Regions from separate parts of the Homo sapiens genome. Here region 1 is linked to region 2. The links are contacts of gene promoters, found by promoter capture Hi-C in blood cells and fetal thymus (Javierre and others, 2016). All regions are on one chromosome and are shown on one strand. The core of a region is centred on a gene start or on the middle of the fragment in contact, and the rest is flanking DNA. Distances in the headings are between cores, read along the strand shown. Region 1 holds the start of GPR32 (G protein-coupled receptor 32). Region 2 holds the start of C19orf81 (chromosome 19 open reading frame 81).

Evidence for each region. The method cuts DNA at HindIII sites, captures the fragments that hold promoters and counts their contacts. A CHiCAGO score of 5 or more calls a contact.
Region 1: the fragment with the promoter of GPR32 here is called in contact with the fragment with the promoter of C19orf81 in region 2 in 16 of 17 cell types (erythroblasts, megakaryocytes, M0 macrophages and 13 more); the score reaches 13.1 in erythroblasts.

Annotation. Positions count from the first base shown.
Region 1 is chr19:50,764,978-50,771,814 of GRCh38, reverse strand. GPR32 (G protein-coupled receptor 32) reads right to left here and starts at 1,351. Exons shown (of 1, transcript NM_001506.2): 1 at 83-1,351. The coding sequence starts at 1,214. The coding sequence ends at 144. The HindIII fragment of the contact is 17,473 bases long and covers 1-5,469 here.
Region 2 is chr19:50,645,346-50,651,663 of GRCh38, reverse strand. It overlaps C19orf81 (chromosome 19 open reading frame 81), which reads right to left and starts at 2,219. Exons shown (of 5, transcript NM_001195076.2): 1 at 2,153-2,219. The coding sequence starts at 2,219. It also overlaps a transcript of SYT3 not described here. RefSeq lists enhancers at 3,286-3,335, 4,958-5,252. The HindIII fragment of the contact is 10,880 bases long and covers 1-6,318 here.

The DNA.
Region 1 (6,837 bases), core at 102-2,601, 120 kb before region 2:
ACCACAGAGCTTTAGATGAGGGGTTGCTGGAAGACTTCCTGAAAGAAGAGGCAGGATTTGGCAGGGTTTTAGAAGCCAGTCAAGGTAAGAGGCCACAAGCAAACTAAGAAGGACGGCTTCCAGCTTCCAGCTGAAGTCTTCCATCATTCCCGGGGGGCGTTGCCACGGGGACAGGATGACAGAAACTCCTCCTCTCCAAACGCCCTCGCCAGGGCAGAAGTCAAAGACTGGAAAAACTTTTCTTGGAAATCTCTGCCAACGAAGACGTAGAGGAAGGGGTTGAGGCTGCTGTTGACACAGCCCAAGGCAAAGCTAGCCTGGAGGATGAGCAGCATCCGGGGGTGGTAGATTTCCTTGAGCATCACCCGTCGCCACAGATGGACCAACAGCACCACGTTAAACGGGGACCAGAAGATAAAGAAAGCGCTCACCAGCACCAGCAGCAGCCTCTTGGGCCGGTTGGCATGGACCCAGCCCTCCCGCAAGAGCTTGGCCCGGATGAGGTGGGCGCAGGTGCCTATGATTGCTAAGGGCCCCAGGAAGCCCAGCAGGAAGTGGCCAATGGTCCCTATAATGTGTCCCTCCACGACCCCTTCAATCCAAATCTGGGCAGTCTCATTGTCAGAGTTGAACGCCAAGTAGCAGTGCGTACAGCCATTCCATTTTCTGGTTGTCCGGAATTTCAGGTGCGCAGAGCACAAGGCGGCGGCCAGGAGCCACACCCCAAAGGCCAGCCAGCTCGCCCGCTGCACAGTGCGGTGGTTCAGGGCCCAGACGGGGTAGAGGACAGAGATGCAACGGTCCACAGAGATGAAGACAAGGAGGCAGTTACTGGCAAAGTAGCTGAGGAACACAAAGGTGATGTAGAGTTTGCAGGCCCACTCTCCGAGGAGCCACTGCCTGGAGACAATATAGTACATGGCAATGGGCAGAGACAGTGAGAGCATGAAATCGGCAAGGGCCAGGTGGAAGAAGCAGACGGTGGAGACCGTGCGTGCCATACGGAAGACAGTCATCCACAGCACCAGCCCATTGCCCAGCACTCCGACGACAATGGACGCAGACAGGATAACCACAGTCAGTGGGCGGAGGGACCCCACCTCCTCAGACAGGCATCCGGAAGAGTTCATCTTCCTGGAACAAGAGCGATCACGTGTCAGGACCCCAGGTTGCCTGTCACTGCAGCCTCTGGTCCCCTCCGAGACCCCATTCATGATTTCTCCATTCCATAATTTTTATGGAATGCTTATTATTATTATTCTTTTAGAGACAGCGTCATGCTCTGTCACCCAGGCTGGAGTGCAAAGGTACAATCACAGATCACTGCAGCCTCCACCTCCTAGGCTCAAGAGATCCTCCCCCCTCAGCCTCCTGGAGTAGCTGGGACTACAGGCACTTACCACCATGCCTGGCTAATTTTTTTACCTTTTTTTTTTTTTTTTTTTTTTGACACAGAGTCTTGCTCTCTCTGTCACCCAGGCTGTAGTGCAATGGTATGATCTCGGCTCACTGCAACCTCCACCTCCAAGGTTCAAGCAATTTTCCTGCCTCAGCCTCCCAAGTAGCTGGAACTACAGGCACATGCCACCACACCTGGCTAATTTTTCTGTTTTTAGTAGAGACAGGGTTTTACCATGTTGGCCAGGCTGGTCTTGAACTACTGACCTCGTGACCCGTCCACCAGCCTCCCAAAGTGCTGGGATTATAGGTGTGAGCCACTCTGCCAGGCCTTAAATTCTTTTTTGTAGAGATGGGGTTTTGCTGTGTTGCCCAGGCTGGTCTTGAACTCCTGGCTTCAAGTGATCCTCCCACCTCAGCCTCCCAAAGTGCTGGGATTACAAGTGTGAGCCATTGAGCCCAGCCTGAATGCTTTTTATGACACAATAATATTGTTCTTTTTTTTTTTTTTTTTTTGAGACAGAGTCTCCTTATGTCACCCAGGCTGCAGTGCAATGGCACGATCTCGGCTCACTGGACACTATAATATTGTTCTAAGTACTGGACATAACTCGTGTAACAAAACAAGCCCTCATGGAACTTACATCCCAGTGAGAGATGTCAGGTGTAATACATATAATAAATTTACTTCATGATATACTGCTTTAGAAGACTACAAGTGTTATGGAAAAATAATAAATGAAATGGAGGGGCCAGGTGTGGTGGCTCATGCTTGTAATCACAACACTTTGGGAGGCTGAGGCAGAAGGATTGCTTGAAGCCAGGAGTTCCAAACCAAGGTGGGCAACATAGTGAGACCGTCTCTACAAAAAATAAATAATTACAAGTTTTTGTGGCCATGCACAGTGGCTCACGCCTGTAATCCCAGCACTTTGGGAGGCTGAGGTAGGCGGATCACCTGAGGTCAGGAGTTCGAGATCAGCCTGCCCAGCATGGCGAAACCCCGTCTCTACTAAAAATACAAAAAACATTAGCTGGGTGTGGTGGCAGCCACCTGTAATCCCAGCTACTCATGAGGCTGAAGAATCACTTAAACTTGGGAGGCGGAGGTTGCAGTGAATCAAGATCGCGCCACTGCACTCCAGCCTGGGTAACGAGAGCGAAACTCCGTCTCAAAAAAATAAAAATAAAATAAAATTTAAAAATTAGCCGTGAGATGGGCGTAGTGGCTCATTCCTGTAATCCCAGCACTTTGGGAGGCTGAGGCTGGTGGATCACTTAAGTTCAGGAGTTCGAGACCAGCCTGGCCAACATGGCAAAAGCCTGTCTCTACTAAAAATACAAAAATTAGCCAGGCTTGGTGGTGCGTGCCTGTAATCCCAGCTACTCTGAAGGCTGAGGCAGGAGAGTCCCTTGAACCTGGGAGGCAGGGGCTGCAGTGAGCCAAGATCGTGCCACTTCATTCCAGCCCAGGCAACAGAGCAAGACTCTGTCTCAAAAAAAAAAAAAAAAAAAATTAGTCAGGTATGGTGGCACGTGCCTGTAGTCCCAGCAAATTGGGAGACTGAGACACGAGGGTCACTTGAGCCCTGGAATTCGAGGCTGCAATGAGCCATGGTCACGCCATTTCACTTCAGCCTGGGTGATAAAGCGAGACCCTGTCTCAATAAAAATAAAGTAAAAATAATGAGATGGAGGTTCTTTTAACTTTGGATAATGTCAGAGTAACTTTGTCAGACAAATGGTGCCACAGACAAAAAAAAAATTAAAATCTGGACAAAATATTAAAAATTACTCCACTATTTGAAAAAATTGGCAGCAGAAAAGTCTGTCAATCCAGAATTTTATATTCTGTGAAAATATCTTTCAAAAATGAAAGTGAAAAAAGGGCATTTTCAGATAAGCCAGATCTGAAATAATATATGGCCTACAGACCGCAGGAATTGCTTAAGGAAGTAAGTCCTCTAGGCTGAAAGGAGTTAATATCACATGGTGACACATATTGACAGGAAGAAATGAAGATCATGAAATGTTTTCTTTAGAAAAAGATCAAGGTAAGGCCAAGCGCAGTGGTTCACATCCGTAATCCCAGCACACTGGGAGGCCGAGGTGAGCAGATCACTTGAAGTCAGGAGTTCGAGACCAGCCTGGCCAACAAGGCAAAACCCCGTCACTAATAAAAATAAAAAAATTAGCCAGGTGCGGTGGCACACACCTGTGATCGCAGGCATTTGGGAGGCTGAGGCAGGAGAATCGCTTGAATCTGGGAAGCTGGAGGTTGTGGTGAGCCGAGATCAGGCCACTGCACTCCAGCCTGGGTGACAGAGTGAGTCTCTGTCACCAAAAAAAAAAAAAAAAAAAAAAAATCAAGATAAGGACAACTGGGAATGTGAAGGATGAGACAGAAAGGGGCCACTGGTACATTAAACAGGGTGGTCAGGGAAGACCCCGATAAGAATGTAACATTTGTCCATGCTCAGTGGCTCATGCCTGTAATCCCAGCACTTTGGGAGGCTGAGAGGTGCGGATCACGAGGTCAGGAGTTCGAGACCAGCCTGGCCAACATGGTGAAACCCCGTCTCTACTAAAGATACAAAGAATTAGCTGGGCGTGGAGGCTCCCACCTGTAATCCCAGCTACTCAGAGGGCTGGGGCAGGAGAATCACTTGAACCTGGGAGGCAGAGGTTGCAGTGAGCCGAGATCACACCATTGCACTCGAGCCTAGGCAACAGGGTGAGACTCCATGTCAAAAAAAAAAAAAAAGAATATAACATTTGAGCAAAGATTTGGAGGAGATAACAAAGTAGTGAGGCACATACGTATCTGGAGGAAGAGCCCTTCAGGCAGAACCAGCAGCTTGTGCAAAGTCCTGAGGCAGGACGGTGCCTGGAATGCTCAAGGAACAGCAGGGAGGCCGGTGTGGCTGGAGCCACGTGGGCAATGGGAAGAGAGGTAAGAGGTGAAGGCAGAGAGGGAAGCGGGCAGATGGAGCAGGACCCTGTGAGTCATAGTGCAGACTCTCCTGGCCTTTCCTGTGAGTGAGATGGGAGTTACAAGAGACTGTTGAGCAGAGAAGGAACAATATCTGACTTAGGTCTTAACAATCACTGTGACTTTAAGGTTGAGACTAGACTGAGGGGGTGGGATGGAAGCAGGAGGCCGGGAGGAAGCTGCTGCAGTAACCCAGGTGGGCAGTGATGGGGATGGGGACCAGGGTGATGTCAGAGGAGGGGGTGGGAAGCAGATTCCAGGGTCAAGGTGGAGCTGGCTAGATTTGCTGCTGGGCTGGATGTGTGAGGTGAGAGGGAGAGCAGTGTCGGGGTGACTGCAGGACTTTTGAACCGATGGAAGCTGGAGTTGCTGTGCACTGGGATAGGGGAGACGGCAGGAGAGCAGGTTTGGGGTAAGACCAGGAGCTCGGGGTTGGTCACTTCGCCTTTGAAATGCCTGTAAGGCATCCCGGGGAAACTTCACTAAGGCAGCTGGATACCAGCAGCAAGATTACAGGAGGGGACCCGGCATGGTGGCTCACGCCTGTAATCCCAGCACTTATTGGAAGGCCGAGGCGGGTGGATCACCTGAGGTCAGGAGTTTGAGACCAGCCTGGCCAACATGGCAAAACCCCGTCTCTACTAAAAATACAAAAATTAGCTGGGTGTGGTGGCACGTGGCTGTAATCCCAGCTACTCGGGAGGCTGAGGCAGGAGAATTCGTTGAACCCAGGAGATGGAGGTTGCAATGAGGCAAGATGGCGCCACTGCCCTCCAGCCTAGGTCACGGAGTAAGACTCAAAAAAAAAAAAATTACAGAGGGGTTTCTGGCTGGATACGGGCATGTCGAAGTCGTTAGAATTTAGATGCCAGCCGGGCACAGTGGCTCACCTCTGTAGTCCCAGCACTTTGGGAGGCAGAGGCAGGAAGATTGCGTGAGCCTGGGCAACACAACATGACCTTGCCTCTACAAAAAAAAAAACAAAAAACATTTAGATGCTATTTACGTCTTTGAGCCTGAGAATGTCCTCCAAGGGTGAGGTGCAGACAGAGAAGAGAGGTCTGGGGTTGAGGAAAGCTTGAGCTTACACAGCAGACAGGCATAAGTCGAAGCTCTAGTTGAGACACTGGATTATGACTGTGTGATCTTGGGCTCAGGGCTTCCCCTGCACCCCGAGCCTCACTATGCTCATCTGAGATAGGGGTGTAGAATCCTTGAATACCTCTCTCTCCTACTCCCTCAACACGCACACCCAATTCATCAAAAAGCCCTGTCAATTTTGCCTCCAAAAAGCCTCTTGCCTCTGTCCACTATGTCCTGTCTCCATAGCCCTATCACCCAAGCACACAGGGCCCCAGCTTTTTTTTTTTTTTTTTTTTGAGACAGGATCTCGCTCTGTTGCCCGAGCTGGAGTGCAGTGGTACAATCTTGGTTCACTGCAACCTCTGCCTCTCGGATTCAAGCAATTCTCCTGCCTCAGCCTCCTAAGTAGTATAGTTGAGACGCACCCCAGGGACACGCCTGGCTATTTTTTGTATTTTTAGTAGCGACGGGGTTTCACCATGTTGGCCAGGCTGGTCTTGAACTCCTGACCTCGGGTGATTCACGCACCTCGGCCTCCCAAAGTGTGGGGAGTACAGGCGTGAGCCACCGTGCCTGGACTCCAGCTTTATATTTATCTCCTACCAGCCACTCACCACCCTACAGCCAGAGTGATGCTTTGAAAGCCCAAACCTTGTAACCCCAGCGCTGTGGGAGACCCAAGCAGGAGAATTACTTGAGGCCAGGGCTTCAAGACCAGTCTAGGCGGCAAGGCGAAACCCTGTCTCTACAAAATAAAAATAAATTAGCTAAACAGGGTGGCTTGCATTGTAGTTCCAGCTACCCAGGAGGCTGAGGCATGAGGATCACTTGAGCTCAGGAGGTCGAGGCTGCAGTGAGCCATGACTGTGCCACTGCACTCCAGCCTGGGCAACAGAGTGAGACCCTGTCTCAAAAAAAAAAAAATACAGTTCAAACTGGAAAATTACACTGTGGCTCTTCATTGCTTGTGGGATAAATATGAGTCTCCCCGACACCGCTGGTGAGGGCTGGGGCACCTGCTGGCCTCTCCAGACTTCTCTTGCACCTTCCCCCTCTTTGTGCACCAAATCCCGGCTTCCCTACCTTTGTGTCCATTGCCAAGATTCTCGTCTCCCTCCCACCCAGGGCCTTTGCATGTGCTGCCCCTCTGCCTGGAGCACCCTTTCTTTCCTCTGCTTTTTTTTTTTTTTTAACTCCTTCCTGAGATCTCAGTGCAAATTTCACTTTCTCCCCAAAGCTTTTCCCAGCCACCTTGATGAATCAGGCCCTCCTATAGGACCTTCTCTCCTATGAAGACATGGTTACAGGCTGGGCATGGTGGGTCACGCCTGTAATCCCAGGACTTTGGGAGGCTGAGGTGGGAG
Region 2 (6,318 bases), core at 970-3,469:
TGGTGCAGTCATAGCTCACTGCAGCCAGGAACTCCTGGGCTTAAGGGATCTTCCTGTCTCAGCCTCCCAAGTAGCTGGTTAAATTTTTTTAACAGGCATCTCAGAGGGCCCCTGTGTGCCTTGGAGGATGCTGGGGACCAAGAGATGAATGAGACACACCTCTGCCCTTTCAGAACTCTCAGATAAAGGGCAATGTGTGTTTCAATGAAAGTGTTACAAGGTGGAGGGAAAGCCCAGTCTCCCGGTCTAGGGGCAATCAGGGAAGGCTCTCTAGAGGAGGTGTCCACAGTGAGACCTAAAGAATAAGAAGGTATTTACCAAATAAAGAGGTGACAGAGAGAAGGATGTTTCCCATGAAGGGCCTAGCATGGGCCAAGGTTTTTGAGCAAAAGAGAAGAGAGTCACCTGCAAGAACTTCCCAGAATTCCCTTGAGCCCCAAGACTAAAGAGCGCTTATTGCCATTGGAGGCTATGAATGATCTGTGAGATGGCGTGTTTCACGTCTCCTCTCCCAGCATGAGAACAAGCCAGGCCGTTTCATCCATTAGGCACTACAGGCAAAATGCTTGGGACCCAGGGGCTTTCTAATGGCCTATGCTGAAGTTTGCAACCTGATCAACTAAAAAATGTGATTGGTTCCACAACGCTGCAAAGAAAACAGCAAAATCGAAATGAACAAACGTCGATCAACAAAACTAGCCAACTGGTCGACTCAACTCCACTTGACTTTTCTGGAGCTACATATAAATTACATGTCACGTGGGTGCCTCAGTCTAGGCTAGAGATGGTGCATTGTGGGGTCTCCAAAAGAAAGATGCCTTCAAAAGCACTAAAAGAGACCTAAAGGCAGAGAAACAACGCCTGTTTTGCCATCAGGGCATTTGTTCGGCCTCGAAGGCTGAGGTGGGAGGATCACTTGAGCCAGGAGCTCAAGGCTGCAGTGAGTTTTGGTTTTGGGTGTTTTTGTTTGTTTGTTTGTTTGTTTTGTTTTTTGAGACAGAGTCTCCCTCCATCACCCAGGCTGGAGTGCAGTGGCACAATCTTGGCTCGCTGCAGCCTCTGCCTCCTGGGTTCAAGCGATTCTCCTGCCTCAGCCTCCCTAGTAACTGGGATTACAGGCACCCGGCACCACACCTGGCTAATTTTTGTATTTTTAGAGATGGGGTTTCACCATGTTGGCCAGGCTGGCTGGCCTTGAACTCCTGACCTCAGGTGATCCACTCACCTCGGCCTCCAAAGTGCTGGGATTATAGGCGTGAGCCACCACACCCAGTCCTGAGTTTGGTTTTCTATTACCTGCAGTTACATGCATCCTCACTGAGATACTACTCCATAAATGTTGAATGAGTGTAACTGCATGAGCTGTGCTACAGCACAGAGTGCTAGCAGGAAGTGCTGGGCTAGGAGCCTGAAGTTGTCAGCAGGGGTCAGACCACACAGGGCCTCAAAAGCCAGGCTGGAGCTTTGGGTCTCTGTCCTAGAGGTGACAGGAAGCTAGGAAGTGTTATGAGCAAGGGACAGCCAGGATCACTGCAGGAAGTCAGAGAGACCTCTCTGGAGCCATGGAGGGATAGGTAGGAGGAGAGAAACTGGGGACCAGGGAGGAGGTGAGGAGAGGGTCCACATGGAAGAGGATGAGACCTGGGACAGGGCTGCGGGGACAGAGAGGAAGGAATGGGGAAGGGAGAGTCAGAGGGCAGGAAGATAGGGCCTGATGGGCTGTGGGAGGGAATTGTGGGAGGTGGAAGGATGGCACCAGTGACTGGGTTGGCGGTGGGGCCATTTGAAAATGGAAACCAGGAAGGAGGAGAGCAGCTTTGGGGGAAGATGCTGAGCTCAGGGTGGGAGACAAGACAGTGAGGTTACCTAGGAGAAGAATGGCCTCAGAGGTGTTGCTTAGGCCCCAGAGGCTCATGGGAAATGTAGTTCTGAGTCCAGGGCATTGGCCAAGGAACTGCAGAGGCTCATGGGAAATGTAGTTTGAGGTCCAAGGGGGCCGCTCTCCAGGAATCTGGTGAATCCAGGAATGCTAGGGATGGCTTTCACTTTGGAGTGCCAGTGACTCGCTTAAGGCCACACTGTGAGCCCGGGCTACTACGCACTGCCTGGATGGAGGAAGTCCACCCCTTCCCCCAAAGACACAGCTCAGTACCTGCCTTCCTGTGCATGGTGGGGCTGCCCATGGCAGGGAAGCACACGGGCTCCACCTCTGGCTGCATCCTGGGAAGGTGGGTGAGGGATGTCTCAGGAAGGTGGCAAGAGAGGCTCTGCCTGGGCCACCCACCCCAGCTCCTTCTCCCCACCGCTGCCTCCTCTACCTCCTCTTTGAAGCCCCGGGGTAGAATTACAGAGGAACTGGAAGGCTGAGACCATGTGGAGATCTGGGTTCCCCTGACCTCAGGGACTCCCTGTGTGCCCCAATCCCTTCTTTCCCATTTCCCTGTTTTTCCTCCTATCTCTCTCTGTCTCCTAGAGTCCCTTTCCCCACCCCTCTCTCTCCACCTCCCTTCCTCATTCTCTCCCCATCTCTCTGCCCCCCTGCCTCCTCCCCTCTGTCCCCACGTCTCCACCACTCTTTTGCTTGATTTCTCTGCCCTCCTCCTCCCTCCTTCTCTCCTGGGCTCCATCTCTTCAGTCTCCATCAGTTTCCCCAGCATCTCCCCAGGCCCCCGTCCCTCCTTGTCTTCATCGTTTTCTGCCTCTCCCTAACCCCGTCACCCTCTCTCTGTCTTCCCACCTCTCACCAGTCTCCTTGCCCCATCTCTATCCTCTCCTAGCTGCCTCCACTGCCCCCTTGAGGCCCCCTCCCCTCTGTCATCCCCTTTCTGTTCCCACTTGCCCTCTGCTCATCCCTGCCCCAGCCAGGAACTGGTTAGAAACAGGCGAGATTCCAACGAAAGTGGGTTCTCTAGTGGGGAGGGGATGGTGGGCAGGGGGCCTGGTTGCCATGGTGCCTCCAGAGGGAGGGGGAGGGGTGGGGGCCTGGATTCCTGGGTCTGAGGGAGGAGGGCCTGGGGTCTGGACTCCTGGGTCTGAGGGAGGAGAGGATGGGGGCCTGGACTTCTGGGTCTGGGGTCTCACGGGGCCTCTCGTGCTAGAGAGAAGGGGTCTAGCCGTGTAGGTGCCTGTTCAGCATCCCTTTCTCTGGGTCTGCAGAGCTCTCTGCAGGAATTGTGGGAGAGGAAGCTGGACCTTCGCTTATTTGTTTTGTCTGTCCTTGCAGTCTTTGTCTCTGTTACTTGTATCTCTTTCTCTTCCTCTTTCTCCACATCCAGATGGTCTCTGGACTGTCTGTTGTTCCTGCTTACTAAGTATTCGTTCTAGGTGGTGGCACCTTGATTTCCTCAGTGATTTGTTCAGTGGCGAGCTTAAGAATCAATCTAGGCTACAAAGTCAACCTTTGGACTTTTGCTGGACCTGTTAGAAAACAGGGTTTTTCCCCTGTGGTTTTGGGGCTGGTCAGAGCCAGGGTTGGAGCTCTCGGTGCTACCACATCACCATGCAGGGAGATAACTTGCCTGAGAGCAAAGACAACACGAGGGAAGCATAGCCCAAAGATACAGACAGTTGGATTCCTGGAGATGATTGGAACACCTGGATCCAGCAATGCCTGAAGCCCTCATCCAATCAATAAACTTCCTTTTATGCTTAGGTCAATTTGATTTGCGTTTCCGTTATTAGCAATTAAAACAGTCCAGATTGAAATAGTCTTACTCAGTTCTGGGGGCCCTGACCCCCTCCTGGCATCTTCACATCTGCTTCTCTCCCATCAAGCTGTCTTCCATTTCCAGCTGGCAATTTTATCTCAGCGGGATGGAGGACATGATTGCCTTGACCACAGGCACACCTGACCCTCACAGCCTATCTGTCTCCAAGTTCTATTCCTTCTGCCTCTCCTTCCTCTCCTCTCTACTCCCATAGCTCTAGCAGCCACTCAGACCTCGTCCTCTCCTGCTGGGACCCTTGCCCCAGCCTCCTTTTTTGTTTGTTTGTTTTTGAGACAGGGTCTCACTGTGTCCCCCAGGCTGGAGTGCAGCGGTATAACAGCCTTGACCTCCCAGGCTCAAGCAATCCTCCCACCTCAGTCTCCCGAGTAATGGGGACCACAGGCCCACACCACTACGCCCAGCTATTTATTTTTTTTAAGATGGAGTCTCACCGTGTTGCCCAAGCTGGTCTCAAACTCTGGGGCTCAAGCAATCCTCCCACCTCAGCCTCCCAAAGTGCTGGGATTACAGGTGTGAGCCACCACACCTGGCCCAGCCTCCTGGCCGCCCCATCCTCCATTCTCTCGCCCTCATTCCTCTCCCCACAAGTGAGGCTCCAGAGTGGTCTTTCTGTGCCCGGAACTGACCTGCCCCTGCCCTGCTCACGGCCCTCCCAGGGCTCCCCAGTGCCTTAGACAAACTTTCAGCCCCTCACCTGGACTGAAAGAGCTGCATGATCTAACCTCACCTCCCTCTCCCAACCTCACCCCTCCAAACATTCTCCACCTACCCTTTATTAATTATTTTATATAAATAATCCCTCCCGCAGCCAGGCGCGGTGGCTCACACCTGTAATCCCAGCAGTTTGGGAGGCCGAGACGGGCGGATCACGAGGTCAGGAGATCAAGACCATCCTGGCTAACACGGTGAAACCCCGTCTCTACTGAAAATACAAAAAATTAGCCGGGTGTGGTGGCGGGCACCTGTAGTCCCAGCTACTTGGGAGGCTGAGGCAGGAGAATGGCGTGAGCCCGGGAAGCAGAGCTTGCAGTGAGCCGAGATCGCGCCACTGCACTCCAGCCTGGGCGACAAAGCAAGACTCTGTCTCAAACAAAATAATAAATAAATAAATAAATAAATAAATAATCCCTCCCACACATCCCACCTTATTTCTGTCTCCACTCTTTCCATATGCTGTGTCTTCTGCCTGGAATGCTCTTCCAACCTTTCCCCATGTCCCCAAATGCCCTCATCTTTTAATAAGAAGCTCAAGTGCCCTCTCCTCCAGGAAGCCCTCTCTGACTCATCCTCCTACCAGTTGTGTTTTCTGTCTCCTCCCTCCGACTGTTTTTTTATCTGCTCCTTCTCCAGACCTCTGAACACTGCCCTCCGCCCCATCTGTCTTGCTCAGAAATTTGTTTCCTGACTCATCTCTGGCTCTCTGGCATCACGCCACAAGGGCCAGGCTTCTGGGAAGTTCAGGACACATGAGTTGAATGAATACATGATTATTTCCCTCTATTTCTGTGACCCACACTCAGTAGCCCCCTAACCCCATCTGCCCTGTCCCTCCTGGTCTTCACGAGCCAACATAAGTTGAAGAAGAGAACATGGGCTCTGGCATCAAACAGACCAGCATCAAATGCTGCTCCCAGGCTGTGCAATGTCAGGCAAATGTCTTCCCCTCTCTGAGCCTCGTCTTCCTTATCTCTTGCCTTCCTCAATGCTACCTTCAAGGGCTGTTGGTGCTTAAGTGAAGCAAGGTACAGCAGCACCCCCAAATCGGAGCCAGGCACCAAGGAGGCACCCAAAAGGAGGTAATTTCCTTTCCAGTCCTCTGACTCTGCATCTAGCTTTGGCTGGATGTCACTGTCCCTCCTCCTCTGCATCTCTCTCTGCTCCTCTGTGTCTCTCTTCTTCCCTCTGGGATTTGGGACTCTATGTCTCCATCTATCTGTGCCTCCATTTGCTCTCTGTGTCTTTATCTTTCTTCCCTTCTCTCTACCTGTCTCTGGAACCCTACCTCATCTCTCTCTGTGTGTCTGCATTTGATTTTTGTGGGGGTTTGGGTTTCGTGGGGGGTTTTTTTGAGACAAGGGCCCAGGCTGGAATGCAGTGATACAATCATAGCTCACTGCAGCGTCAACCTTCTAGGCTCAAGCGATCTTCCCGCCTCAGCCTTCCAAGTAGGTGGAACTACAGGCGCACACACCACGCCTGGCTAATTTTTGTATTTTTTTGGTAAAGCTGAAATTTCACCATGTTGTCCAGGTTGGTCTTGAACTCTTGAGCTCAAGCTATCTGCCTGCCTCAGCCTCCCAAAGTGCTGGGACTACAGTGTGTGTCTGAATTTGAATTCCTGTATCACAGGTTTCTGTATTCCTGTATCTCTGTCTCTCACTGTCTGCATCTCTGTAGATTTCTGTATGTCTCTGTATCTCCATCTTTCTCTCCCTGTCTTTCTCTCTGTACATCTGTCTCTGTCTCCATCACTCTATTTCCCCATCTCTGTTTCTGTGTCTCCATCTCTCTTTCCTTCCCTTTCTCTCTATGTCTCTGTCTCTGCCTCCATGACTTTGCCTATTTCCCCATCTCTCTGCTTCTGTGTGTC